4 separate regions of the Homo sapiens genome follow, and regions 1, 2 and 4 are each linked to region 3. The links are contacts of gene promoters, found by promoter capture Hi-C in blood cells and fetal thymus (Javierre and others, 2016). All regions are on one chromosome and are shown on one strand. Each heading gives the region's core, a stretch centred on a gene start or on the middle of the fragment in contact. The rest is flanking DNA. Distances are from core to core; before and after follow the strand shown. Region 1 holds the start of CYRIB (CYFIP related Rac1 interactor B). Region 2 overlaps CYRIB (CYFIP related Rac1 interactor B). Region 3 holds the start of NSMCE2 (NSE2 SUMO ligase component of SMC5/6 complex). Region 4 overlaps CYRIB (CYFIP related Rac1 interactor B).

Region 1 (5,721 bases), core at 2,120-4,619, 4.9 Mb before region 3:
GAGGGACTTTTGCATATATGAAGGAAATAGCTATTTTTTTTTTTTTGCTTGAAAGCTGTGTGGACCACATGTGCTATGAAAGCACAGCCTTCTTTTTTAATTTTTAATTTTTAAAATCTTGGTTTTTCAAGATTCTTTGCTTGGCCAATGAAAGCACCAGATTCTAATGTTGAAAGTAAAATGTGCATGCTGCTTTCCAGTTATAAAGCATGAAAAACTCATTTTCTTACATAGTCCTCTCAACAACAGAAGATAATGTTATTATTCCCACTTTACAGATAAGAACATTCAAGAAGTCAGAGGTTAAATGACTTGCCCAGAATTGCACAGCTGAAAATGGCAGGCAGGCTTTCCCAACTCCAAAGACAGTGCTGTCTATAGGATGCTGGACTTCTGCCTACCATTGTCAGGGTTGACATCCCGGGGAAACAGAGCAGTCACTACAGAATTGCCAGAGGTTTCCCCGGGTATTATTCCCAGGTTCCCAATGGCTTGAATTGGTCAAACCTATCAGGATCAGAGTGAGCCTAGGCTCATGCTCTCAGCCTCACTGTATCCAGTGAATGGAGACTTTCTCCTCTGAGACACACACATCAGAGTTAGACTCTCCATCCCACATATTTCAGAATTCAGTAGAGTGCAGGCTAGCAGGCATCCAAGCCCTGCCCTCACCTTCATCTATTCTTCCCTGCTTCCTGGACCCCCAAATTTGCATTCCATGTTACGCTCACATCAAACTATTTACAGATCCCAAGCTTGCCTGAAAGTTCCTTACCTCATGCCTTTAACAATTATTATGGTAGGCCAGGCGCAGTGGCTTGAGCCTGTAATCCTAGCACTTTGGGAGGCTGAGGCGGGTGGAACGCTTGAGTTCAGGAGTTTGAGACCAGCCTGGGCAACATGGCAAAATCTTGTCATCACAGAACAATACAAAAATTAGGCTGGGTGCGGTTTTTGGGAGGCTGAGGTGGGCGGACCGCCTGAGGTTGGGAGTTCGAGACCAGCCTGGCCAACATGGTGAAACTCCACCTCTACTAAAAATACAAAAATGAGCCAGGCGTGGTGGTGCACATCTGTAATCCCAGCTACTTGGGAGGCTGAGGCATGAGAATTGCTTGAACCCGGGAGGCAGAGATTGCAGTGAGCCAAAATTGCGCCACCGCATTCCAGCCTGGGTGACAAAGTGAGACCCTGCCTCAAAAAAAAAAAAAAAAAAAAAGGTAAATTGTAACAGTTATGATAATAGTAACAACAATGGTGATTGCTTTCTCCTGGGTCCTATCCATATTAGGTTCTATATATTCGCTATTTCATTTAACCCTCACCATAACCTAACGAAGTCATTATTATCCATTCCATTTCACAGATGAACAAACTGAGGCTGAGAGTGGCTAAGTGCTTGGGCTCTGGAGTCAGACAATCTAGGTACATACCCAGCTCCACCGCTGTCTAATCTGTGTGATCTTGGGCAAATCTCATCTCTCTTCCAGCTGCAGTATCTTAATGCATGACACTGGGCCATGATAAACCTGCTTCATGGGCCTGCACACACTTGGCACCTGCTTAGTACTTTATAAATGTTCAGAATTGTTAATGCTCATTTTATAAGCGGCTCAGCTCTGCCTGCTTCCAAACCCTTTTCCTGCTTCTCCTCAAGGTCATAGTTCAGGACCCAGTGTTTCCCCACCTACTTCTCAGCCCCCACAGCAAGGTGGACATTAGTTCCCTTCCTTTAGGAATGAAGGCACTGGCGCTCGGGTAAGCTTAGAGAGCAGTCCAGGGAGTACTGCTGAAATGGCACCATCTCAGGGTCCCCAGCTCCGAGAACTGGGCCTGGCCAAGAGAAGGCGCAAGGCACCTTTGTTAAAGAATTGGCGGGCTGGGTGTGGTGGTTTATGCCTGTAATCCCCACACTTTGGGAGGCGGAGGCAGGGAGGATCCCTTGAGCCCAGGAGAAACAGGCCAGCCAGGGCAACACAGGGAGACCCACCTCTACAAAAATCTATAAAAATTAGCTGAGCATGGTGGTGCATACCCGTGGTCCCAGCAACTCGGGAGGCTGAGGTGGGAGGATCGCTTGAGCCCAGGAATTTGAGGCTGCAGTGAGCTATCGCATCACTGCGCTACCTAGCCTGGGAAACAGAGCAAAATCCTGTCTTAGACAAAAAAAAAAAAAAGAAAGAAAAAAGAAAAGAAATGGAACAACTGGCTCCTAATCAGGTAACTCAGCACTGAGTATGATGTGAGCACACTCCAACCCCCCTATAGCTGGAGGTGGAGGTGGAAAGACAATGGAAGCCTTTGATGTAACCCTTTTGATACCCTGCTAGAGGACAGCAGAAAGATACTTGAGAGAATGTTGTCTATCTTCCCGAGAAATTTCTGGTTGAATGTCAAGATAATGATAGGATGGGCTTCTGGGCCAGGGGAGCAAGGCAGAGGGAAGGAGAGTATCAGTTTCCTAGGCATGTCCTGTTACAGGGAGAAAAACACAGTATTTTCCATTCTAGATCAGGGGAAAGATGAGGTCTCCCATAATACCTGAAACTGGAATTATGGCGAGGAGCTTTTTATGTGGGAATTTCTGTACTAAATTTAAAGTCCTTGGAGAACCGCTTAGGGTAGCACCGACAGCCCGCACCGTCCCCTCACCCCGCTTTATTTTTCCTCTGGCACAGCACTTAGCACCATAGGACCCATCAGATATTTACGGCCTGTCCCCGCTGCCCCTCCCGGGCAGGGATTTTGTTTTGGTTCGCAGCTGCAGCTCCAGGGCCTAGAACAGCCCGGGCACTTAGTAGGCCCAGTAAGTATCTGCGGGAGGGCTGAATGGGTGCGTGGACAGCATTCCTCTCACTGACCCCGCTGCGAGGTGAGCCAGGCAGGGGCTGTCACCATTCCTGAAGTCCAGGTGAGGGGGAAGCGACCCAGGGATGGGAACCTGGCCGGCCTGAAGGTCTGGAGACCGGGGTTCGAGCCCAAGCCCTGCCTGACAGGCAGTGACCTTGGGGGTCACTCTTGCGCCTCTCGGAGCCGGGTTTCCTCCTCGCACAATGAGGGCGATGACCCCCAATCGCAGCGCGCCCCGCGGTGACTTGCCCAAGGTCACCACCGTCCCGGGCCCGTGGCGCCCCGGCTCGGGAGGACACGGGCCAGGCGGGCGCGGGGTTCTGGGGTGGGGGCCGGCGCGGGGCGGTCCCGGGGCGCGGCGCGCGCTGACGCCGGGGCCCCGCGATGCGGCGGGGACTGGGCGCGGGGGGAGGCGCGTCGCGAGGCGAGCGTCCTCCTTTTGTGCGAGCGCCGGCGGCTCGGCTTCTCGAAGGTAAACAGCGCTTCCTCTTCCTCCTCGCCGCGCCTCTTCCTTTTATAGTTATTTCTCGCCTGGCACTCGCCCGGGCTGCTGCTGCTGCTGCTGCTGCCGCCGCGGCGGGGGCAGCTCGCAAACCTGTGGCGGTGACGTGAGCCCCGCCAACCCGGAAACGGCGGCGGCGGCGGCACCGGAGGCTCCGAGGCTCCTGCGCTCCCGCGCCGCGCTCCCCTCGCCCGCCCGGGCCGCCAGGTACGTGCCGGGGCTCTGAAGGCGCCGCCGCCCGGCCGGCCCGCGCGCGCGCCCCTGGATCCGATTTGCCCCCGGAGAGGGCGCGGGGTGCGGGGCGCGCGCGTGATGGGTGCGGGGAGAGGCGGAGGTACCATCCGGGCCGCCGGGCCGGGCGCTGCGGCGGGTGGACAGGGGGCGCCGCCGTGGTGGGGGCGTCCGGGCCGGCGGGCGCGGGGGTCCCGGGGGAGGCGCCTCGAGTGCGCGGGGGGCGGCGGGCGGACGCGAGGGGAGCGCGCAGCGGGGCCGCCGCCCGGGTCCACCCAGCTGCGGAGCCGGCGCCTTGTGCGCCTCGAGGCAGGGGGCGCTCGGGTCGGGGTGGCTGGTCCCTGGCAGACCCTTCCTGCGAGCCGGGTGTCGGTGCGGGGACTGACCCCGGGAGCAGCGCTGGCCCCCGGCCACCTCCCATCAGGGGCTTGGAAGACCAGTCGCATTGGATTTGAGGAACTAGAGGGGGTGAACAAAATCTCCACTGGCCTCAAGACTTCCTCCTGGGGTAGCCACCCGCCTGTGTTTAAAGAGCACTTCCTCTTCGCCTTTTATCTTTTCATTATCTTTCTTTTTAAATGGAAGTTCAGTGTTAGCGGGTGGGTGCCCTTGCAGCCTGCAGGGCTTTCCTGGGGCTGTGTACACACACACTGGGGTTGGGAAAAACCTGTGTGTCCTTTGAAACGTGTGTCCTGTGTCAGGAGTGGAACGAAGGAGGAATCGAGGTCTTACCATGCTGGAGCTACTTGGAGTGTGCCTTTGCTACCCACCCTGCTGCAAGAGGTGGAGGGGTGCGGAGGGATAGAGCTGGGGCTGCGGGGGAGTGTCACATGCACTTTGCAGCTATGTTTAATTCCTGGCCCTGCCGCTTACTAGCTGTGTGACCTTGGGCAAGTCGCTTACCCTCTCTGAGTCTTAGGGTCCCGTCTGTGAAATGGGCTGCTGCGAGTGGGGCCTTGAGAAAACGAGCGTAGATTTCCTGGCCTGCAGGGGGCGCAGTGATAGAAAGTGTCATTGCCAGTCACCTTGAATTTCTGCATCCCCAGCACCTAGAAAGGGTGCGTTGAAGCACGTGGGAAGCACCCCATAGATAATTGTGAGATGAACGAGTGGGTGGTGAATTTTGAGAGGTGAGTCGGTGTGCTTCCACATTTTGGCTTCCTTGCCCTGTAACATCCATCCAGGATCTCCAGGGAGCAATTTTGCTATCTGGGTTGGATGGACTCCTCCCCTCTCTGAGGAAGACCATCTTGTGAAAATACTGACTCCCTTGTGAAAAAGGGCTTAAACTCTGACTTTGAGACTCTCCCATTCTTGGAAGATTGCACTGGGGGAAAAATAAAAAGAAGGCGTCATTTTGATTGCCACCGCCAGGTGACTGGCTGAGGCCAACAGCCAAGACTGAGCCAGGGCTGACGTCTGGGATGGTTTCCCAGGCCTGGGGTTCCTGTAATGTGGGGGAAGCCCGGAAGAGGTGACTTTTCTACCTTGGTCGGCATGCAGAAGTGGTCAGCTGGCCTGAGTTTTCTTCCTGAGGAGGCACATTGGAATTTGCACTCTAGATCCTTGCTGGGCTCACAGCACGGAGAAGGGCAGAGTGTGTGATGCAGGAGGCTGAAGTGGGTTCCAGCACAGGGAGACTTGGAAATGGTTTTCAGATAAAGGCCAATATATGTTTCTGCCCTTCACTTTGGGAGATTTTCAAGTAATTTTGCTGTCTCTGACAGCCACCCCTTCTCCTTTCTCAGCTCCCAAAGTCTTCTGTGTGCCTCTCTTAGGATCCTTAGCTATGTGGGTCCCCCAACTCCCGACCCCCGTAAGTGCTACTATTATTTTTAAGAGACAGTGCAGACCCTTCTGTGCAGCAGCGTGCTGCAGTTTGAGCATGTGCAGATTCATTTTGTTTGTGTTTTGACAGGGTCTCACGCATTGCTGAGGTTGAAGTAGTGCAGAAGTAGCGTGATCATGTCTTACTGCAACCTTGACCTCTCAGGCTCAAGCCATCCTCCTACCTCAGCCTCCCAAGTAGCTGGGACCACGGGTGTGCACCACCATGCCCAACTAATTTTTTAATGTTTTGTAGAGATGGGGTCTCTCCATGTTGCCCGAACTCCTGGGCTCAAGGGATCCTCGCTGCC
Region 2 (5,827 bases), core at 1,935-4,434, 4.9 Mb before region 3:
GGCTCTGTTACCACAGCATAACCCAGCTCACCCTAAGTGATATAACCACTACTGTCATACAGGGAGCATGATTCATGGAACTTGGGAGCAGGTGTGTGTGTGTGTGTGTGTGTGCAAACACAAAGACATGTATGTGTATATATGAATCTTGCTGCCTCTTGAGGCTGGTTTCCAAACTTGTCTACACTTTGGAATCACCTGGCAATCTTTTAAAATCCCAAGCCTAAGGTCATACACTAGATGAATTACTTCATAGACTCTAGGGGTGGGACACAAGCATTAGTTTTTTTAAGCTCTCCAGATGATTCTAATGTTCAGGACAAGTTAAGTTCAGGAATCACTGCTCTGTGAGAATTATAATATCATTATTATTATTATTTGAGAAGGGGTGGGGATAATGGAAGTGACAATGGTAGTAGCCATCATTATTATTTACTGGCTGCTACCTATATGCCAGGCAGCATTCTCGATGTTTTACAAAGATAATCACTTCTGATTCTCACTGCGCTCCACGAGACAGTTTTGTAGGTGGTTGGAGAAGGAAAGGAGAGGGTCATATCTTTCAAACTTATGTAAGCCACAGAGTTGGCTAACCAGATTGTCAGGTGAAAATGAGAAAGATGGGGCTGCTGGGCTTACCTTCTTGACCCCAGAGGGACCATTGTGGTCATCCTTAGGGCTGAGATTTAGGTGTTCTTTGTTACCACAGCATAACCTATCCCATCCCGATGGATGCAACCATCCTTTTAATAACCACAGTGGATTCAGGCATTGGTGCTTAGAAGCACATTTTGCAACATTATAAATTGAGGGTGAGTTTATTTTGGCTTGTGGCTTGGAAGGAGAAAAGAGTGCAGTAAACCAGGCTATTAATCTTGGGTTTGTTGGTTCATCCATCAACACCGCTTTGTATGTGTCTCAAGGAATCAGATTTAATAAATTAATAAAATGCTATCTTGTGTTTTTGTAGCACTTTTCTCAATGGAATACACAGTGCTATGCAAACCTCTTACTGTTGTTGGTCTTTTTGATACACCGTAGAACGCTTGTAAGAGGTAAATAGGGCTGTTACCATAAGGTAAAATGAGGAAATAAGTTACCTTGAAATGCTTATCTAATATCTCTATAGATTTCCGACGTCTGTAGAGATTTCTGATGGGAGCCTCGATGTGTAGGTAGGAGTTTGGTGCGGAAACGTGGGAGTGTTGTGGAAGGTGTTCCTAGCAGAGGTGGAACAGCAAGAAACAGTATTTACATGAACTCTGTAAGCAGCTTAGTGTTGTGACCGAGAAAGATACCATTCCTTGCTATTATGGGTGACTGGAAAATCTCAGAAAGCCTGCATTTCCACTTATTTCTTCATCATGCAGCACATACTTTTTTTTTTTTTTTTTTTTGAGACGGAGTTTTGTTCTGTCACCCAGGCTGGAGTGCAGTGGCACGATCTTGGCTCACTGCAACCTCCGCCTCCTGGGTTCAAGTGATTCTCCTGCCTCAGCCTCCCAAGTAGCTGGGACTACAAGTGTGCACCATCACGCCCAGCTAATTTTGTGTTTTTAGTAGAGACGGGACTTCACCATGTTGGCCAGGCTAGTTTCAAACTCCTAAACTCAAGTGATCCGCCTGCCTCAGCTTCTCAGAGTGCTGGGATTACAGGTGTCAGCCACCGCGTCCGGCCACAGCACATACATCTTCTAACATTTTGCAATGGTGGAAGAGATTTGTGTGTTGTGTGTAGTAAGGGCCAAATAAGGACAGCAATTAATTTACCTACTTTTACCCTGAAAGATCACACCAGATACCATACCAAATGTTGCACACTGCTTATTAGTATAGATATTTCACAGGACTTTACTGATGCCTCAGTGATGTAGACTAACCTTTGGAAATAAAGACAGTATAGACATAAATCCCTCTAATCTTCCCCCTGGGTCCAGAGTTCATGACTGGGGGATCGTGCCCCTAGACAAGTTCCTTAACCACTTGGGCCCTGCATTTTCATAAGCAAAAATATTAGATTGAAGGTGAATTCCAAAGTTTTTCCCATTTCTAAAATTAGTTCATTTCATCCAGAAACTCTGATGCAGGCACTTATAAGTACAAGCAGCCTATTAAATTAAAAAACTAGGCCAGGCGCAGTGGCTCAAGCACGTAATCCCAGCACTTTGGGAGACTGAAGTGGGTGGATCACCTGAGATCAGGAGTTCGAGACCAGCCTGGCCAACATGGTGAAACCCCATCTCTACTAAAAATACAAAAATCAGCCGGGCATTGTGGCCAGCACCTGTAATCCCAGCTATTCGGGAGGCTGAGGCAGGAGAATCGCTTGAACCTGGGAAGCGGAAGTTGCAGTGAGCTAAGATGATACCATTGCACTCCAGCCTGGGGGACACAGCGAGAGTCTGTGTCAAAAAAAAAATTAAAAATTAAAAAGCTAAGTAAATACTGAAATGGACTATAGACATTTTCTCCAAGTCTGTGGGTTGAGATAAGACCAGAGCTTGGGCAAGGTAACATTCTCCCCTTTGCCCTCTTCTGTGTATTACAACTTGGGGAGAGGGATACGTTCTCATTAAACCTGTGTTCTAACATGAAATCGGCACCAGGATTTTAGAAGGGAAGCTTGCTAAACCAGTTACACTTCTTAACTGGTCCATTTTTTTTAAGGTTTATGCAATATCTTTCCTTTTGTAGCCTCAAAAAGTGACTGTGAGAACCTAAGCTCTTTCGGACTTTTAGTTTATGTTTGACTTTTTCCTGTCATTCTGTCTAAATCTCTGTATTTCAAATACTAGGTTACACAGTAGTGACCTGATCATTTAGGCTAATTTTGGGCGAGGGTTCAATCTTACCTCCTTGTCTTGCTTATCTGATTCCCTGGTTCCAGCTCTGTGGCCATGCTGGGGATTCACAGTAGCGTTAAAACCTAGGCCTGTGCTGATTCAGGCTGGACCAATGCCATCTCCTTGACCAGCTGCAGCTGTTTGTTGAGTGCCCGCCTTGTGCCAGGCTCCGTGCTCTCACTGGGGATACAGTGGTGACAAAATAGTGTGGCCGCTACCGTCCTGGAGCTCACAGTGTTTAAGGAACCACACAATAACCATACAATTGCAGTGATGGTGTGTGCTGTAAACAAGAAGCACAGAGGTTGAGAGCACGTGCACAGGGGATCTGACCTGGTTTGCTCAAAATGGCAAATGCATGGCTGTGATGAGGAACCCAGGCCAATACCTGGGGGCTCTAGGCATTAAGAGCAGCAAGTGATCTCAAGTACAAGTTGGGACCAGGTGAAGGGGTCAAGAGTCCGCTCACGAACAGCACTAGGGTCCCTGTTATTGGATAAAGTGCAGGACAAGTCCTTCCCTGGACATCTCCCTGCCACCCTCCCCTGACCTTCCCAAGCTGGAAGGAACTCTTCTAGCCCTTTAATTTTACAGGATATATCATCCGTGTCATTTATTTGGCAGTTGTGCGTTGCTTTGTATTGGAGTAAGTAGTGTGCCTTTCATCCCCTAGAAGACAAGTCTGTTTCCTACACTCTATGTCCCCCAAGTAGGTGACCCTAGATGAAATGCTTGATGGATCAGTTGGCTAATGAAAATGCCTGTGGCATTCAGTTAGTCTTAGAATGTGGGCCTCTTTCTTCTTGCCTCCAAAGCAGCTGATCAACAGAAGGTTCGGAATGAAGAACAGTAACACGTAACAGTTCCAAGTGTTCCTTTGTGCTAAAATTTACCAAAGCTTCTGTGGATTGAGGCAGTTAATGGGGGGAAATTCTATCAACCTAGGAGTAGTTTAATAGATATTAGCTTGGAATTAAAAGTTCAAGGTAAATTGTCTTTCCTTTATCTACTCACTTTTCTTTCTGCCTGTGTGATTCTATTTCCATTAATAGAGTAACTACCAGCCATGAGCCTTCTGTTTGCTTTGGCCCCTCCTATCTTTCCTTATTTTCTCCATCAGGTTCTCTCCCTTGGCCACTTCTGCTTCCTCTTCTCTTCCATATTTCTCCTGTTCACACTCTTCCTTTTTAAAATGCCATCTTTTTGGACAAACAAAATGGTTCAAAACGTTAAAGAAAAATGAAAAAGAATATTATTTCACTTCCACATTCATCTTGTTATCATTGAGTTTTACCTTCTCTGATCCTCTCTACCATTTCTCCATAGGGGTACATATTTTATATTAATTGTATATACAATTTTGCATTCTATTATATATAACTTTATTACGTATTTATTGTATACATACATATACATGTAATATACATAATTATAAATGTAATTTTTGGCCGGGTGTGGTGGCTCATGCCTGTAATCCCAGCACTTTGGGAGGCTGAGGTGGGCAGATCACCTGAGGTCGGGAGTTCGAGACCAGCCTGACCAACATGGAGAAACCCCATCTCTACTAAACCCCATCTCTACTAAAAATACAAAATTAGCTGGGCATGGTGGCACATGCCTGTAATTCCAGCTACCAGGGAGGCTGAGGCAGGAGAATCGCTTGAACCTGGGAGGTGGAGGTTGCGGTAAGCCGAGATTGCACCATTGCACTTCAGCCTGGGCAACAAGAGCGAAGCTCTGTCTCAAAAAAAATAAACAAAAACAAAAGGTAATTTTTGCATTTTATGATATATGTAGTTTTGTACTTTGTTCTTTTAACTTAATATTCACATTTTTAAATTCAATGAATGCTAACTGAGCTCCTACTATATGCCAGACATTGTTCTAGGGGCTGGGGACACATTCGTGGACAGACCAGCCATAAATGCCTACTGTCATGGGCTTAGGTCTAGTTCATGGAGAAAGACAATAAACATAATACAAACGATGTTAGGAGGTGACAAATGTTATGGAAACAAAGAGTAGGGTGAAAGAAGATTGGGAATATTAATTTATAAAATAGTTTCTTGTGTTTCTACCATTTTCTTTCTTTTTTTTTTTTGAGATGGAGTCTCGCTCTGTTACCCAGGCTGGAGTGCAGTGGCACAATCTTGGCTCACTGCAACCTCTGCCTCCCGTGTTCAAGCAATTCTCCTGCCTCAGCCTCCTAAGTAGCTGGGATTACAGGCACGTGCCACCACGGCCAGCTAATTTTTTGTATTTTTAGTAGAAACGGGGTTTCACCATGCTGTCCAGGCTGGTCTCGAACTCCTGACCTCATGATCTGCCCGCCTCGGCCTCCCAAAGTGTTAGGATTATAGGCATGAGCCACCGCAACTGGCCGTTTCTACCATTTTCTTATGTCCTCAGTTGTATGTTGTCCTTGAGGTTGATGGATTTTAATGTATTGAGAACCTTAGGACTATATAACTTTATTATTATTTTTTTGCTTTGTTTTTCTTTTGAGATGGAGTCTCGCTCTGTCACCCAGACTGGAGCGCAATGGCACAGTCTCGGCTCACTGCAACTTCTGTCTCCCAGGCTCAAGTGATTCTCCCGCCCCAGCCTCCCGAGTAACTGGGACTACAGGCTCCCGCCACCACACCTGGCTAATTTTTGTATTTTTAGTAGAGATGGGGTCTCGCCATGTTGGCCAGGCTGGTCTCAAGTTCCTGACTTGAGTGATCTGCCTGCCTTGGCCTCCTAAAGTGCTGGGATTATAGGCGTGAGCCACCCTGTCTGGCCAGGACTATGTAACTTTAAATCATGAGAAGACATGGGAGTCATTGAGAGCAAACCCTTCATTTCTGAGGTGAGGAAACAGGTCCAGAGAAAATAAATGACTTGCTCAAAATCGTACTGCCCCCAAGTAGCAAAGCAGGGGCTTACATTGTAATTAAAGTGATTTTCATTAATTCTAAAGATGGTTCTTTCAGAATCCTACT
Region 3 (6,020 bases), core at 1,377-3,876:
TCATGCTCTTCTGTAATTCTGGAGTAGGGAAAAGATTAAGACTGAGATTGAATTGAAAAGCAAAGGCAATGGATGGTGCAGAAAGATGGAACAGACATACTTTTCTCAATCTCTCCCAATAAATACAGCTAAGTACAAGTCAAAGACAACTCCTTTCTCTGACTCTAACAGCACCTTCTTTGATATAATTATAATTATAGTCACTCCACTTTGTTAGTGACTATCTTGCAAGATGTTAGCAGTGCTTCACAAACAGCAAGTGCTCTGAAAATAGTCAATAAATGAATAAATTAACTGTCTGCTTCAGTCAGATTCATAGCTCTCCTGTTTCCTTCTCCCCTTCATACCCAATATTCTTAATCTCAGCTCCAGACTTTGTTCAGGCTGGGTGTGGTGGCTCATGCCTATAATCCCAGCACTTTGAAAGGGCAAGGCAGGAAGATTGCTTGAGGCCAGGAGTTTAAGACCAGCCTGGGCAACACAGCAAGACCCCAACTCTACAAAAAAAAAAAAAATTTAAACTTACACAGACATAGTGGCTTGCACCTATTGTCCTAGACCCTCGGAAGGCTGAGGTGGGAGGACTCCTTGGGTCCAGGAGTCCAAGGCTGCAGTGAGCTATGATCATGCTACTGCATTCTAGCCTGGACGATAAGAGTGAGACGCTGTCACCAAAAAGGAAAAAGAGGACTTTTCCTCATCCTGCTCCCACCATGAGAAAACCTTCTCTTCAGTTTTCTTTCTATTTATTTATTTATTTTTTGAGACAGAGTTTCGCTCTGTCGCCCAAACTGGAGTGCAGTGGCATGATCTCGGCTCACCTCAACCTCTGCTTCCTGGGTTCAAGGGATTCTCCTGCCTCAGCCTCCCGAGTAGCTGGGATTACAGGTGTGTGCCAGGACACACCAATTATGTTATTTATTTACTTATTTATTTATTTATTTATTTATTGTATTTTTAGTAGAGAGAGGGTTTCGCTATGTTGACCAGGCTGGTCTCAAACACCCGACCTCAAGTGATCCGCCCGCCTTGGCCTCCCAAAGTGCTGGGATTACAGGCATAAGCCACTGTGCCAGGGCCTCTCTTCAGTTTTCTATCTGCCCACATCTTACCCATATGCTAAAGTCTGAATGTTTGTGTCACCCAAAATGTATATGTTGAAATCCTAACTTCCAAGGTGATGGTATTAGGAGGTGGGGCCTCTTGGGAGGTGATGAGGCCCACTTTCATGAATAAGATTAGTGCCCTTTTAAAAGATGCTCCAGATAGCTGCTTTGCCATTCCACCATGTGAGGACACAGCAAGAAGCCACCTATGAACCAGGAAACAGGCCCCGGAACTGTGAGAAATAAATTTCTGTTGTTCATAAGCTACCTAGTTTATGGCATTTCCGTTACAGAAGCCCACATTGACTAAGATACCATCTTTCATGGCTTGGTTTAAGTGGTTCTCAACCAAGAAGGATTTTACCCCTCTCGCAAGGGGACATTTAGCAGTATCTGTAGACTTTGTGGTTGGCATCTAGCGGGCAGAGGCCAGGGATGCTCTTAAGCATCCTACAAAACACAGGACAGCCCTCACCCTGACCCCACAGCAAAAAATTATCTGGCCTAAAATGTCAATAGTGCATCAGTTGAGAATAACTGGTTTAAATCAATCTCTCTTGGATCCCTCCCCAGGTAATAACACTGATCTTTTTCTTCCCGGTACCTATGATCTCCAAGAAAGTTTAGAACAAGTTGTGCATTTCCTGAGTTTTTTCTCTGCATGTTATTTATAGACAATATGTTGACTTCCTTTAAATCCATGGGAGCCTTGTACAAGTCAGCCAGAGCTGCCTCTCCTTTTTCAACATGCAAGGATAATCCCTTCTCTCTGAATCCTTCTCATACAATTGCTTTTCCCTCCCTCATGCTACCATTATCCCTATCACATGCACATGTACACAACACACTCCTATTATGAAACTCATCACAACTATTTGCTCACATGTCTGCAGCTTCTTTAAACTGACACCTCCTTAAACTAGAACCCTGACATATTCTATTGCATATAAAGCAATTCCTCACACAAAATAGGGGACCAATAAAGATTTGGCCAGTTACAAAAATAACAACAGACATCATCATTTCTCGGTCACCTACAGAATGCCATAAACTGGTGTCCCGGCACTTTATTCTCCTTATCGCTAATTCTCACTGCAATCTACATAACTGAAGAGGAAATTGAGGTCCAGAGAGTTTATTCAAACGACCTTCCCGTGGCCTTACTTTTAAAGTCAGTTCAAACAAAATCTATTTGGATCAAAAATTCGTAATCTTGCCCCTACACACTTGAGGCGAAAGGATGGAGAGATGGCGTCTCGGACAGGAGGGTAAACTGTCCCAGACTCACTACCGTGGCGTGAAAAGTTCCACAACCATAATCCGGGTAGACGGACCCCCGGCTCGGAGTCCCCGTGGAGTGTCCCTGAGGGTGGCGAAACTCCTGCCACCCTCCCCATTGCCGTCCCCCGCTTCTTCCCTACCTGGTAGTCCAAGCTGTCTCCGTCTGGTGGCACCCCAATTTCCCCTGCCTAGACCCACCTCCTTTCCTCAGCCCCCTTCGCCTGCCGCTGAAAAGTGAGAGCGGGCTCTTGCGTCATCAGCCGTCGCCGGCGAGTGGTCACATGATGCCCCTCCCTGCTCCCAGCCGCTTCGGTCATGTGACCGCCTGGGGAGTCAGGGGCGGAAGTCGGGGTCTGACCCGCTCCAGGTCCGGGACTGCGGATAGAAGAGGACCGCCGCCTTGAGGGAGGGGTGGAAACTGGGTGCCGGCTCCGCGCGCGACCTCCGGCCCTGCGCGTGCGCCGTGGCGCGGCCCGGCTGACAGGTGAGTGGGGATGGAGTGAGCGCGCCCCATTTTTGCATGGCCCCCTTCCCCTCCCCGCTGGGCCGCGCTGGCCACGGGGAGGTCTGCAGAGTCGCGTGCAGCCTGGATGGGGGACTCGGGATGGAGGGCTTAGGGGCTTTCTGGGGCGGGGGCTGTAATCCAGCTCTTCGTCTCCGCTTAGGGGGAAATCATTTTGCACACCCCTTCCTCGCTTTAGGAAGCACCGTTCAGCTGCTTGGTCCGAATCTCATCCTTCCAAGTTTCCGGGAACACTGCTGTATGGATGTCGTCGTTATTTCTCTTTGCTTTTGAGAAAACTGAAAGGCTAGTAGTGAGGACTTTTACAGGCTGACAGACGTGGATTTGCATTCTAGTTATGCCATGGGCTGTGAGTTTGGGCAAGTCATTGCTGCTCGCCGCGCCTTAATGCCTTCACCTGTGACATACTGATGTCAAAATCCTTTGCATTTGGGGGAAAAAAAAAAAGTTCCCAGGGCCCTGATTCCTGGGATCGGAATCAGGATTATGATCGGACAGGAGAAAGAAAAAAAGTCACAGAGCCATAAAACTGGGTCTCCTGATTGCAAGCGCATGGAGCTCCCTCAAACATAGGTGAGGCGTAGTGAGGGCGAAGTTTTACTGTCTTTGTGCACTACAAGGGACACCTTCTCTAATTGTCCTTCACCTGCCTTTCCCAGGATTTCAGGTTCAGCCTCATTTCAGAACTTTTCTGGAAAATATATGCAGCTTGCATTTATCTTGATCAGCAACCGTTATATTTTGTTTGTGATAATGGATTTGTGGAGACCAGTGCTTCCTTTATGGAACTGAGGTTTTGCGAAAGGCTAAAAATAGACCTGCCTTCTTTTGTCCTCTGAAGAGGGTAAACTGTTTGTCCACGACAATTCGATTTCCTTAAGAAATATTATTCTGTACTCAGGGTAATTGGTGTAAGGATGTCATGCCTTATTCTTGAAAGCATGTCTTTTGATTAGGATTACTTCCCAAACTGAAAATCACAGTTCCACGCCAAATTATTAAAAATGAAGTTACCGGCACTTGTAAAAGAAAATAAGAAAATATAGTGGGATCTCTGGATTTCATGCCAATAATAATATAGCCTGTATTGAGAAAACTGATCTTCAAGTGTTCTTGATCCCTAGCACCAAGAGAACCTCTGAAAGGATAATTTAACATAGCTTCTTCTACAGTGTTTATTTGGACCTAATTCTAAAGTGGTTTTTTAAGACTTAGCTGAGTCTTAACACTTTGTAAAGCCATCCACCTACCTCTTAGCTGCAACTTGATTAGGCATTTTTAATGATGGTTCTTAGATTCTGTTCTTCAGGACTAGTCCTTCAGCCAACGAGGGGGCTATTTACCAAATACTCTAGCCAAATTATATTTGTACAAATTATGGAAATTCCATTTGTTACATGGAAAATATAACTAGTCCGGGTTAGGAGGTCTAGTACATAAAATGTAACTAAGTGATTTCCTTCTTTCAGCTAATCTTGTTTTAACTTCTTCCATCTTCAAAAACTTAGCAGGAGATGCTTGCATTATTAGAAATAGAAAACACAAGTGCCCTTCATGGGGCAAAACAGATTACAAGCAGTGAGTTCATTTCAGTAAAAGTATATTAAATATAACTCATATGCTTTTGCATTAAAAATTTAATATAAAGTTTATATATAGAATTTTAGAAAGGTGATTTACCTAGGTAATAAAGACCCATAATATTTGTTTTACTATTGCCGAACATATTTGGTTATTATTATCCTCCTCATGTTCTTTTAAAGTTGTCTACAGCGTAATTCTTGAGTAAGGGACTAAGGATTAAAACAAGAGATTGACACACGAAAGTCTTGATCTCTGTCGTTATCCCAGACTGAAGCTTCCCCGAATGTGTGCATGCAGGTGCTGAGTCTGTCTGTCCTTCTGTATGTTGGGAGAGAGTAGAGTAAAGGGCAAGTAATGTTACTTTGCTTTAAGTTGTTTTTCCCAGGGCCACATTGTTGCCCTGTCATGGTATCCCAAATCGGGTAGCCATTGGACCTGTTAATCATAGCTTGTCCTCCTCTTCATGAGTCTAGAGCAAGCTTGTGTAGCCTGAGGCCTGCAGGCCACATGCGGCCCAGAATGGCTTTGAATGTGCCCCAATACAAATTTGTAAACTTGCTTAAAACATTATGAGATTTTTTTGCGATTTTTTTTAAGGTCATCAGCTATTTTTGGTGTTAGTGTATTTTATGTGTGGCTCAAGACAATTCTTCTTCCAATATTGCCCAGGGAAGCCAAAAGATTGGACACTCCTGGTGTAAAGTTTCATCCTACTTAGACCTTCTGGGTTAGTTTGGTGGTCTTCAGAGGGCTTTAGTATGTGACTGTTTTGCCCACTGTCCATTATTTCCCCTTTCCCTCTCTGCTTTCCCAAGCCAGACCATATCCATGCAGAAAATGAAATGAAATTATCTGAAATTCAGCCTGTTAGAGATCAGTGTGGTTTAACAAGCAAGTATCACAGAGGAAACTAAAAGAACTTGTTAATAATGTATGCCTTAATGTGTATTACAGGGTACCTTCATGGGAGTTCTAGACAGCTGTAGTGGCTTCTTGGCTCTCAGATCCAATCCAGTCTACTTCTTCTGTTTCCGCCCCTAGCTGACTCTGCTCCAGCCACTTTAGCCACCTTGCTAGCCATCTAGCACATTCCTGCCCTGGGGCCTTTGCACTTACTTGTAACCTCTGCTTGGGATGCCATTATTAGGATCATTATCTATTGCTGCATAATAAACTATGCCAGAACCCAGTGGCTTAAGACAATAAGCTTTATAGCATCTATGGTCCGGAGGGTAGGGCATAGCTGGCTGCCTTTGGCTCTGGGGCTTTTAGAACATTGCAGTCAGGCTGGGAACAAGGAGCTATGGTCTTATCTGAAGGCTGGACTGGGATTATAAGGGATCTACTTTCAAGTTCACTCAGGTGGTTTTTGGCAAGCCTCAGTTCCTTGTCATATGGGCTTCTCCCCAGGGCTCTCTCACACCATGATATGTTGCTTCCCCTGGACTAGCAAGCTACAGAGGGTGCCCAAGCCAGAAGTTAGTCTTTTCGAAATCTAATCTCAGAAGTGCACTGTATCTTTTGTT
Region 4 (5,941 bases), core at 336-2,835, 4.9 Mb before region 3:
ATTACAGGCTTGAGCCACCATGGCCAGCTGGGAAATGATAATTAATAGACCCTCCTGCTGTTTATCATCTTTGAAAGAGAACGACCCAGTATTATAGCAATATCTCCCCAGATCTTGGGCCCGAGTTCTGGGCAAAAGGTGCACTGTGGGCGCTGTTCTCACTTATCCTTCCAGAGGAAGTTTCCAGCTAATAGTGGTTCAACCTAAAAGGTTATAGTCTCGGAGAAGACAGTTTGTGAATAAAAGAACCTCTAATAGGCTTTATTCCTTCATATGTTAGCATAGAAAAATGTTATGCTACTATTGACAGAAAATCCAAGCCAGAGAATGTTTGTAAACTTGTAGTGGACCCAAGAATCAGTTATGTTATTTCCAAGGCACCCCAAAATGTGTATGGGATTTGCATCTTGGTGGTAAACATGCACTGAAAACCAGAAGTACTTTGTGTTTTCCTGGTATTAGGGTTGTAAAACATTGATATATTATTTATTTAATTAATTAATTAATTTATTTATTTATTTTGAGACAGAGTCTTGCTCTGTCACCTAGGCTGGAGTGCAGTGTCACGATCTCCGCTCACTTCAGCCTCTGCCTCCCAGGTTCAAGTGATTCTGTTGCCTCAGCCTCCTGAGTAGCTGGGATTACAGGCACACACCACTACGCCCAGCTAATTTTTTTGGTATTTTTAGTACGAGATGGAGGTTTCACTATGTTGGCCAGGCTGGTCCCGAATTCCTGGCCTCAAGTGATCTGCCCGCCTTGGCCTCCCAAAGTGCTGGGATTACAGACGTGAGCCACCGCACCCGGCCAACATTGATATATTTTTAAAAAGGTGTGTGTGTTCGTGTGCATGCACGTGTGTGTGTGTGTACACGCACTTAGCTGGTTAGCACTAGTTATGAATAGGAAATTAAACACCTGGGAATGTGTTTCAAAGGACACCCCCCAACCCCAGTGTATTAGCATCTTTTCTGAACTGCATACTTGGGAAATAATAATAATAACACACATTGATGGAGTGGTAGAGAACCTGGCTAATATAAAAGGACATGTTCTGAATGGATTGAGGGATACTTTAGAAAACTCTAGCACAGGGGAGGATTCCTCCAAATGTATTCATTTTTGAGGTGCATCTTTTGTTCTGTATCATCCTGGCACATGCCTGGGGAGATGGTGCCCACAGCGCGAGGCTTGAGTCTCCAGGGATTCTCTCTAAATCTGTTACGGTGGAGGTTTCAGACATTGCAGTTTTTCCTACAAGTTCAAATCAACCAAGACAAATTGGAATCACTTGTGTGAAGCCTGCCCCACAACCATCTCACAATAGTCATTTAGTGCTTGGCTGATCGAATATTAAATGAAAACATAAGAAAGAGAAGTTTTATTATTCAGGTAATCTGATTAGCTATATAACACACTATAGACAATTCAATTAAGAGGATCGAAACTACAATTAGACTGGGCACGGTGGCCCACTGTGGCTTTGGGAAGCCTAGATGGGAGGATTGTTAAGGCCAGGAGTGCAAGATTGACCTGGGCACATAGCAAGACCTCGTCTCTACATGAAATAAAAAAAAAATTAGGCATGGTGGCACACGCCTGTACAACTGAGTAGTACCCCAGCTACTCGGGAGCTTAAGGCAGGAGGATCTGTTGAGCCCCGGAGTTCGAGGCCACAGTGAGATATGGTGGTGCCACTGCACTCCAGCCTAGGTGACAGAGCAAGATTCTATTAAAAATAAATAAATCAATAAAATTAATACTTCTACTACTGCTAATACAAGATGTCCACCCTCAAGGTGCTTATGATCTCATTGAAAGAGTGAGGACAGGACGGGAGCAGTGGCTCACGCCTGTAATCCCAGCACTTTGGGAGGCCAAGGCGGGCAGATCACGAGGTCAGGAGATCGAGACCATCCTGGCTAACACGGTGAAACCCCATCTCTACTAAAAATACAAAAAAATTAGCCGGGCGTGGTGGCGGGCGCCTGTAGTCCCGGCTACTTGGGAGGCTGAGGCAGGAGAATGGCGTGAACCTGGGAGGTGGAGTTTGCAGTGAGCCGAGATCGCTCCACTGCACTCCAGCCTGGGTGACAGAGCGAGACCCCGTCTCAAAAAAAAAAAGAGTGAGGACAAATATTAGGTGATAATACCAAATAGTATAGGATGGGAATTGGCCCATGTGTGATCATTTTGTACCTTATTATTGACATTTACATACAGAGACGTGCACATCATTATTATTTTTGGCTGGGTGTCGAGTCCAGTTTATTTAAAACATGACATGGCAGACTTTGGGAGCTGGATGGCCTTAGGAACTGAAGCATAGCAGAGTTCATGTGTGAGCCATACAGAGGTCTACTGTGAACGAGTGTGAATCTTGAGCTGAACATGGCCCAGCTTCCCACATACCTGTTAGATGCCTTCTCTGTCTGGCACAACACAAGAAAAGATGACTGGGGAAGTTTGTGCCAGCAAGGCAAGACATTTGGAAATGGCCTTCATGAAACCTCTTTGTTCTGGCTGGGCACGGTGGCTCACGCCTGTAATCCTAGCACTTTGGGAGGCCGAGGTGGGTGGATCACTTGAGGTCAGGTGTTCCAGACCAGCCTGGCCAACATGGTGAAACCCCGTCTCCACTAAAAATAGAAAAATTAGTTGGGCGTGGTGGCACATGCCTGTAATCCCAGCTACTTGGGAGGCTGAGGCAGGAGGATCACTTGAACCCAGGAGGCGGAGGTTACAGTAAGCAGAGATTGCGCCATTGCACTCCAGCCTGGGCAACAGAGCCAGACTCTTTGTCTCAATTAAAAAAAAACCCCAAAAAACAAAAAAAAACAACAACACATAAACACACACACAAAAACTCTTTCTTCTGATTCAGAAATTCTATTTCTTTTTTTCAAACAAATGTTTGGCTTCTCAGAACTGAGGGGTAATGTAAACATTAAGAATCACCTTCCAAATTCACGCTCAGAGAGGCAGCCGTAGGGAGAAATTGGAAGGAAAAACCGCTTATAACTAATTGCAGTATTAGCCTCTCCAGGTAACTATGGGAAGAGCTGAGCAAGGCCTCCTTGAATGGGAGATAAGTTCACCTGTGTAATGACTGCATTTAGTTTTTTCCCAGGAAATTATAAAAAAGAATTGGTTTGCTTAAAGGTCTGTTTTCTTAAGTTTGTTAAACATTGCCGTAATAATTTTTTACATTGTTGCTAACTGGTCCTAATAATGTGAAATAAATTTCAGTCTAGTTTAGAAAAACGGTCATGAATTCTGAATTAAAGTAATTCTGAATATCCATTATTATTATAAATAGCAGATGTTTATTGCATATTTGCTATAAGCCACTGTACTGGGGGAAAGTTTTATTAAATAAAGCAATAAAGCGTTGTTAGAAATATTACAGAGCTCTTGTAATTGAACAGGATTATAGGCATAAGTTTATAATTTTATTAACAGGGATAGAATGAATCATGGTAAAGAAAAAAAAACAAGTGATAAACAAGCCAATAAAATAACAAGATGAATCCACTGAGGGGAAGGAGTAATTATTTAAATTTTTTTTTTGTTTAATTAACATTTATTGTCTTCTGGGTAACAGGCACTGTTAGGGACTTTTACATCTGCTATTTTATTTAATTACAAGAGTTCTTCATTTCCAGATAAGATTTCCCATGGGCTTCCTTTGACTAATGAGTTATCTTAGCCTGGTGCTTGTCAGTCCCAGCTGCACATGAAAATCACCTGGGGAGCTTTGGAGCAATATGGTGCTGGGGTGCTTCCCCAGAGAGTCTGTTTAATTATGCAGAGTGGGGACCCGGCTGCAGTATTTTTAAACTCTGGACAAACCAGAGATGTCATTTCACTTGCAGGAAAAATACAGCAATAAGCAACTGCTGCAAACTTCTGCAGTAGAGCATGCTATGCCAAGTAGAATAAGCAAAACACCTGTTTTCCTTCGTCTGTTTCCTATTAAGTGGGATGTGGAAAGTGTCAGAATAATTATGGAATGAAGCAGGCTAGAAAATGTTGCTTTAAAAGTCTCAAACCCAGAATTTCCAGGTGCTCTTAACTTGTAGCCTGGGTTTTGCTCCGTGGCGTTTATCAGAAACATGGTGCCAGTGACTTGCATAATAAAAGTTTTTGTCTTTTTTATTTTTTAAGAAAAAAGGAAACTATTTAACAATCTTTTATACTAAAGGTAATGTGTTTTAATGAAATACATACATATGTCCAGAGTACAGAACTGTGGATAAAACAGTTTAGGAGGACACAGAATTGTAAGGAATTCTTTCTTTTGGTGGAGGGATTATGGGTAGAAATGTCTTCCTTAAAAATCATCTGTTTCGGGCACAGTGGCTCACGCCTGTAATCCCAGCACTTTGGGAGGCCGAGGCGGGAGGATCGCTTGAGGTTACGAGTTCGAGACCAGCCTGGGCAATATGGTGACACCCTGTCTCTACAAGAAATAAAAAAAATTAGGTCAGGCGCAGTGGCTCACGCCTGTAATCCCAGCACTTTGGGAGGCTGAGGTGGGCGGATTCTGAGGTCAGGCGTTCGAGACCAGCCTGGCCAGTATGGTGAAACCCTGTTTCTACTAGAAACACAAAAATTAGCTGGGCGTGCTGGCAGGTGCCTGTAGTCCCAAGCTACTCGGGAGCCTGAGGCAGAAGAATCTCTTGAACCCGGGAGGCAGAGGTTGCAGTGAGCCAAGATCGCACCACTGCAGCCTGGGTGACAGAACGAGATTCCGTCTCAAAAAAAAAAAAAAATTATCTGGGTGTGGTGGCACGTGCCTGTGGTCACAGCTACTTGGGGGACTGAGGCAGGAGGAGCACTTTGAGCCCAGGAGGTTGAGGCTACAGTAAGCCATGTTTGAGCCACTGCACTCCAGCCTGGGCAACAAAGTGAGACCCTGTTTGAAGTTTAAAAAAAAAAAAATCTGTGATTTTTTTTTTTTTTTACTTCTAGTAAAGTTGTTTAATAGCAAAACATTTTAAAATAGCAAAACATTTTTAAAAACCAGGAAGCATCTAAGTGGTTTGGGAGGCTCAATTGTTTAAAAAATTATTATAGCCTTAGATCACATAATAGATAATTAACTTTAAAAATGATCCATAATCAAAAATATATCCAATCCCTAAAACAATTCCTGGTCACCTTTGTAAATAGATTTGCTTCAGTGGGAACTTTTAGTGCTGCCTAGAGCATCCCAGGAGTCATGAAAGTATGGCAAAATTGGTCAGAGAAAGGAAAGCTTCCATTCGACTTGCAAACATTAAGGGTTTTCTTCTTAAAATAAGCAACGTTTCTGGTAGGGGTGATAGATAGGCTTCCATTTAAGCGATGTTTTGCTCCTTTAAAAAAACTTTATATCACATTTGCTGAGAGACCTTGGGCAAGTCATATCATTCTTTTGGGCCTGAGGTTCTTTGTTGATAAAATGAGGGAATTAGACTAACATAGCTGTCAGTTTTCAAATTGGGATTCACAGGGCAGAGTCTCCTACAGAGTGCTGTGGGGAGGAGTGTTGGGTCGGCTGGATTCTGGGTCTCCTGCCTTGGCCTCAGACAGGCTGCCCTGTGGGTGGGTTCTGGGCAGTGCTCATTTTCAGGGAGGGGAATCAGTTTGATCTACTAGACATCAGGCATAGTACCGGGTGTGGGGGACACCAGGATGACCAAAACCTAGCATGAGCCCTCAGGTAGCTTAAAGCTTAAAGTCTCTTGGAGGAGACGGATAAGGACACAGAGAAATCCAGCCTTTCTCAGCTAGGTGAGGGACTGGGTGGGAGAAAGGAGGGAGTTGGTTAGAAGGCTAGTTGGGTATAAGAGCGCTGGGTGTTTTTTAATTTTTATTTTTATAGAGACAGGGTCTCACTATGTTGCCCAGGCTGGAATTGAACTCCAAGGCTCAAGTGATCCTCCTTTCTCAGCCC

What was found. The method cuts DNA at HindIII sites, captures the fragments that hold promoters and counts their contacts. A CHiCAGO score of 5 or more calls a contact.
Region 1: a contact is called between the fragment with the promoter of CYRIB here and the fragment with the promoter of NSMCE2 in region 3, in 1 of 17 cell types (total B cells). The highest score is 5.5, in total B cells.
Region 2: a fragment that was not itself captured here is called in contact with the fragment with the promoter of NSMCE2 in region 3 in 1 of 17 cell types (neutrophils); the score reaches 5.6 in neutrophils.
Region 4: a contact is called between a fragment that was not itself captured here and the fragment with the promoter of NSMCE2 in region 3, in 1 of 17 cell types (neutrophils). The highest score is 5.1, in neutrophils.

Annotation. Positions count from the first base shown.
Region 1 is chr8:130,014,208-130,019,928 of GRCh38, reverse strand. It overlaps CYRIB (CYFIP related Rac1 interactor B), which reads left to right and starts at 3,369. Exons shown (of 14, transcript NM_001353258.2): 1 at 3,369-3,559. RefSeq lists silencers at 3,157-3,216, 3,267-3,336, 3,427-3,616, 3,807-4,076. The HindIII fragment of the contact is 5,812 bases long and covers 1,766-5,721 here.
Region 2 is chr8:129,950,823-129,956,649 of GRCh38, reverse strand. The region is part of intron 2 of CYRIB (CYFIP related Rac1 interactor B); the gene reads left to right. Among named protein-coding and RNA genes, the nearest start is that of MIR5194, 55 kb to the left of the region's middle. The HindIII fragment of the contact is 1,119 bases long and covers 2,625-3,743 here.
Region 3 is chr8:125,088,466-125,094,485 of GRCh38, reverse strand. NSMCE2 (NSE2 SUMO ligase component of SMC5/6 complex) reads right to left here and starts at 2,626. Exons shown (of 8, transcript NM_173685.4): 1 at 2,528-2,626. WASHC5 (WASH complex subunit 5) reads left to right here and starts at 2,694. Exons shown (of 29, transcript NM_014846.4): 1 at 2,694-2,871. RefSeq lists an enhancer at 2,535-2,754 and a silencer at 2,805-2,974. The HindIII fragment of the contact is 6,790 bases long and covers 1-4,770 here.
Region 4 is chr8:129,973,722-129,979,662 of GRCh38, reverse strand. All of the region lies in intron 1 of CYRIB (CYFIP related Rac1 interactor B), which reads left to right. Among named protein-coding and RNA genes, the nearest start is that of MIR5194, 32 kb to the left of the region's middle. The HindIII fragment of the contact is 7,355 bases long and covers 1-5,262 here.